Regions from separate parts of the Homo sapiens genome. Here region 1 is linked to region 2. The links are contacts of gene promoters, found by promoter capture Hi-C in blood cells and fetal thymus (Javierre and others, 2016). All regions are on one chromosome and are shown on one strand. The core of a region is centred on a gene start or on the middle of the fragment in contact, and the rest is flanking DNA. Distances in the headings are between cores, read along the strand shown.

Region 1 (2,700 bases), core at 67-2,566, 4.2 Mb after region 2:
TTCACACGGGCTGTAGCTTGGAGTGTAACCCGGTTCAGCTGTACAGAATCAGTTTCTGAGGTCTATAAAACACCTTAGGAAGTAAACAAAAAAACTTGTTGTAGACATTCTGTATGAGATCAGTTTTTTACCCTATGTCGTACCTGACGTAATGACTGTTATCTACAGTAATTTGTTAAAGCTGGGCTCCTTGTTGACAACGGCTAGAGTGAAAGCATAGTGCATTTTCTAATTTGTTTTATTTTGCTTATCACGATGTAAGATTACTGTTTTATAAACTGAATGGTCAGCTTTCACTTAGCTACAAGAGTACATTTTTATAACTTAATATTTTATTCTGAAAGTTCAGGGACTTAGTTTTGGGTGAACTAGGTCCTTTTACAAGACAGTTTCTAAAATATAATACAATATAGTAGAGCTTAAATCCTGAAAATGGCTACTAATTAGATTATCAATGCACTAATTTCCACCATTTTTTTCAGCAGATCGGTTTTGAGAATTAGTATAGAAAGATGTAAAGCTTTTGACTTCTGTGCAACTGTTTGGAAACTTGACTATAACACACATGTGAAAAATCTATATAAAATAGATTCACTAGAAAACTTCCTAACAAGGATAACTTCTACAATTTCAGGTCTGTAAAAGATGTAATTAGTGAGTGATTTAATTTATATACAGGCATATGTGTTTTAGATGAAGGTGAAGGGAGCCCTTAATAAACTTGAGTTTAACTTGTGCATTAAAAACCTGCTCAGATGTGGTGCTGGAAATATATAGTTGTATTTTAAATTGAGTTCGTCGAGCTCCTATATATAGTGGTTTCTCTGCTTGGTGTCAAAAATGTTGAGTTGTGGAAGAGCTTAGGTACACATCTGATTTGATAATTTTGGCTTACTCCAGTTTTACTGAGGCACACAGGTAACTGTTTACTATTTAAAATGCCATATTAACTGAGAATTTAGTAAGCACCTATGTCCATAGGTATTTCCAGGTTAATATAGATAGTGCAGAAAATGCTGTTTTCGGCTTGCCCTGACAAAATGTACTTCAGTTTGGAATAAAGTATACACAGCCATTTAAAACTGATTGCAAAAATAAAGAGTGAGGGATTGTTTGAGATCTGTATTTCTAAATCATAAGGAAGTTTGGAATTAATCTGAATCAGTCATTTTATAGTGATACTATTGTTTTAAAAAGTTGCTGTTGTGACAGACATTTCATTGTTCAAAGAAGGCTTGAAGAAAATTCATGAGGAATTAAAGTTTAGTAATAATTTGAGAACTGTGAGGCAGTTTGGGTTGCAGCTGAAGGGCAGCTGTTTGTGGATTAGATTACAGTATGTAAAAAGATAAAGTTTGGGCAACCAAAAATTTTTTTGTTTAATGCCAAGGCAGTGTTTGCTTTTATTCTTATTTTTTAAATTTAATCTTTGAGAGATTCATTGTGTAGTTACCTAATAAAGCTCATTATAAAATAGAGGACATGGTCATTGTAATCCCTAAAGGATCCATCAATGTGTAGTGAAAAGAGAGTTGACTATAAAGTCAAATCATTCTGGATTGTAACCTCAGCTGTGAGATTTAATAGTTGGGTGATTTGGGGCAAGTTATTTGACCTTGCTTTACCCCTGATTTCTTCATTTCTAAAATAAGAGATAACTTCAAAGGGTTAAGAATGTGAAAAGTAAATGAGCTAGTTCTTAATTAAAGTACTTGGCATAAGACCGGATACTTTGTAAGTGATATTTAACATTAGTTGCCTTCCTACATTGTGAAATCACAGTTTTAAAACTCACATTAAAAATACTTTAAACGGTTGTTTTGAATATTATAAACTTGTTAATAAGGAATTATGGTATTCGAGCTTCTTTTTTTTTTGAAACATACTGTTATACTAATTGGGTATAGTCTATCTGAGTTAGAGTTCTTGAATATAACAATTGTAAAGCAATCTGTGACATTACCAATAAATTAAGTCTAAGCGAAGTGCAGTATGTTATATTCACTTAGGATAAAATGTGATACTGTATTTCATAGAACCTTAGAATTTTTGTCTCTGACACCAGGACATTTCATACTATTTAATAATGACTTGGCTAGCCTTGCAAGCTTCTTGAGGCTCAGAAGAATTCTAAGTTTCGTTGGTTTTGGTACTTGTGTTAGTGCTGTGGTTCATACATAGAGTGCCTCAGTTAAAAATTGTTGATGGATTAATTTTTATCTAGTTTAGGAACTTCATTATAGTAGACTTTACAGTCAGCGTATTGGTAATGGTTGCTCTGAGTTTTGTTCAGACAACTACTTAATTTGTGAAAGTCCCCAATATTTGCTAATGATATTATTAAATACTGTCTGTAATGCATGCCAAAATGTATTTTGAAGCCCAAATGCTTCCTCTCGCCATTTGTACTGCAAGGATAGACTGTCTTATCAGTCCAGTAGTGCATCTCTTTACTGGTACTGAATCACTTGAAAAGATACAGTGTTCTTCCTGGGTAAACCCCTCCTGGTATACTTTAATTATTGTGTTCAAAGTGAATTCCCAGAATATGGACACACTAGTTCAAATATAATTATTAGAATATAATTTATTTAAAAGTATAGTTGAATTTTATAATTTTTGATTAACTCCTTTACGTTTCCACTAAGAACTAAAAAACTGACTCTCTTGGTTGCTGTCTAATACCTAGAAAAGCAGAAA
Region 2 (2,812 bases), core at 154-2,653:
GGGCAATACTGTGGAATGGAAATCATTACTGAGTGGTCCTCTTCCCCCAAGTCATTTATGCCACCACTTCACAGTGGTTCCATTTCCAATATATTTTGCCACTTTGCTGCTGAGAATGTGTCTTACTAGGTTAGCATCTATAGTGGTTAAAAGAATCTCCCATAACAATAATTGTGTGAATCACAGAATTACCAATGACCCCTTATCAATAGCATTCCTGTTAATTAAATTGAGATGGGGAGAGATACAAACAACTCCGAACCTCACTCATGGTCCCCCACCAAAGCTAAGTATTATGGCTTCTCTCTCTGACCAGATAGAGGCAGAGTTTATTGCAAAGCCACAAGTGTCCTCCTTTGGATTCCCCCAAATAGTGTTTCAGTGAATTCCTCTAGCTTGAATTGCTCCTCTCTATTTGCTGGGGGAGTTAGGCAGTCCGTATCCGATGGATTTACTATGCCGACAATTACGTGGCCTTTCCACAGCCTTTTACTTGGCAGGTACCACATATGAAGCTTAGAAGATACAGTGGGCAACAGGCCAAATGGAGTCCCTTTCCTCAGAGTGCATGGCCTGGCAAAAATCCTTGAATTCAGTATCAACTTCCCTTCACAGGCAAGGCTCTGCACCCTCCCCACGGATGCCTAATCCTGAAACCATTTTGTTTTAGGTTTAGTTAGAAAGCTTTGTCTCAAGAGCACTTTTGTTTGTTCTGTTTTCTTTAAGTCAAGGTAGTTTTGAATAAAGGAGACAATATTTGAGTATTTACAAATCGGGTATTTAGACTATTTACACATATACAAGTTCTGGGTGAAGTATTCTGCTCCAATTTGCAATCTACGCACACTTTGCTAGAAAACGTTAAGACTGAATTCAAATCAAGTACAGTATTTCAGAAATCTTTCAGGTGAAGCCTAGTTCTGGTTGCTAGGCAACCTGACAGACTCCCAAGCTGGGACCACCTCGCCTCCCACATTTGACCATCTCTCCAGCGGTGGGACGCGGAGTACCCATTGGCCCGCATCTCCTCTCACTTAGTCCCAATTGGTCGGAGAACCTCTCACTCCGCTCCCGTTGGCTCTCGCCGTATCTCGCAGCTCCGTCATTGGCAACTGGGCTCTCGTGCCACCTCACGTCAGTCTCTCACACCACTTCCTCGGCCCTGAGACTTTGTCCCCGCCTCTTCTCCCCGCCCTTCCAGCCACGAGGGAAAATCCTAGCGAGTCATCGCCTCTAGTTTCCTTTTGATTGGTAGAAGCCGGACTGGGGGGCGGGCGCTGCCGGGCAACTCTACCGGCCGCGATTGGCTGTGGGAGCCACCGTCCCGCCTCCCAGCGACTCTCGGCGGTGCCGGAGTCGGGTGGGTTGGCGGCTATAAAGCTGGTGGCGAAGGGGAGGCGCCGCGGACTGTCCTTTCGTGGCTCACTCCCTTTCCTCTGCTGCCGCTCGGTCACGCTTGGTGAGTGTCCCGCGCTGGGGAGTAGAACTGGGCTGCGGAGGTGCCGCGGGCGGGGTGTGGGCCAGACAGAGGCGGTGTCCTTGACTAGGCCCGAAGGAGCTGGGGCTCTGGGTCAGGACGTAGGCGTGGACTTTGCCCGGGAGGATGGGGCACCGTGAGCGGGGCCGGGCGGGGGTTCCCTCGTGAGGGACCTGAGGCCGACCGTAGCGGATCTGAGAAGATCCGAGAACACAGGCGAGTCGCGGAGGGGAGAACGCGAGAGGGCGTTGAGGTCTAGGTATTCTAACGACAGAGGAGTTGGAGGTGCCAGAGAGGCAGCTGTGACCGCCTAGAGGTGAGTGGGGGGTGTCAGGAGGGGGAGAGAAGACAGTTGGGCTACCAAGGCGTTTCCAGAGCGTTGGTTAAGGGTGGACGCCAAAGGATGGGCAAGATCCTCTTTAGACGGAGGCTGGTAGGTTCGCAGGGGGTGTGTCCTGCTGCCACATATAGAGTTGATGGAAAGAAGGGAAGTGGGTAGCATTACTTTTCTTCCTCAGCTCAGGTGCAAGAAAGCGTTCACAACCGTGATTTAGACCTGGCTAAGTACTGGGGCTCAGTCTGTACTTGCTTCAAATCTCATAGATCACTGCCTCCCGCCTTCCTGCCTCCATATTTTTTTTTGTCTACGTTTTAAAAAATAGGCTTCCTTGGTGTTCTGAAATCCCACATCTCTCTCCTACTAATACCTTCGGGACCAGCTTTAGGTGATACAGTGTAATGGGCAGGCACTCACAGAGTCCTCCCACAAATAGGTTTTGGATTAAGCTAAGGATATTTCAAAGCAAGTATATGGAGTCTTTGAAAACCCACGTCTGGCCTTGACCAGTGGTAGAGAAACGATTATTCTGATCCACTCTGGAGGAGGGATTTGGGGAACAAATAATGTGAGGTTGTGCCTGTTTGTCATGCTTGTCCCTATGGCCTTAGCCTTAAGGCATCAGTAGCTGCTTTCACTGCTCACCTCTGCTGCAGCTCCCCACCTTCCCGAGGATGCTCTTGCCACCTGCTGCAGTAGGATGATGTGTTCTGGTTGCTGCTAACTAACATTTGCTCTGTTTTAGGCATGAATATGAAAAACAATGACAAGATAAACAACAAAATTAAGACAAATGGAAGTGCTCCTAGAGTTAACAGATTTTTCCTTCTGAGATGTGTTTTGGACTTTATTGCACAGATACTATTAGATGAGAGGCAGTTGAAAGTCGTTAACATTATCCGTGTCAGTAGTTCTTTGCACTTGAGACACCTAAGCAGCTTGTGTTCTTTAAACTTTATTTTAAAATTGCAGTTATTTTTGTGTGAAGAAGGGGGCAG

The links. Contacts are between HindIII fragments. The CHiCAGO score rates a contact against its expected background, and 5 or more counts as called.
Region 1: a fragment that was not itself captured here is called in contact with the fragment with the promoter of HMGCS1 in region 2 in 1 of 17 cell types (monocytes); the score reaches 5.1 in monocytes.

The regions. Positions count from the first base shown.
Region 1 is chr5:39,070,525-39,073,224 of GRCh38, reverse strand. All of the region lies in intron 2 of RICTOR (RPTOR independent companion of MTOR complex 2), which reads left to right. Among named protein-coding and RNA genes, the nearest start is that of RICTOR, 2.5 kb to the left of the region's middle. The HindIII fragment of the contact is 1,588 bases long and covers 523-2,110 here.
Region 2 is chr5:43,312,003-43,314,814 of GRCh38, reverse strand. It overlaps HMGCS1 (3-hydroxy-3-methylglutaryl-CoA synthase 1), which reads left to right and starts at 1,403. Exons shown (of 11, transcript NM_001098272.3): 1 at 1,403-1,459. RefSeq lists enhancers at 1-490, 491-1,007, 1,014-1,243, 1,494-1,633. The HindIII fragment of the contact is 3,835 bases long and covers 687-2,812 here.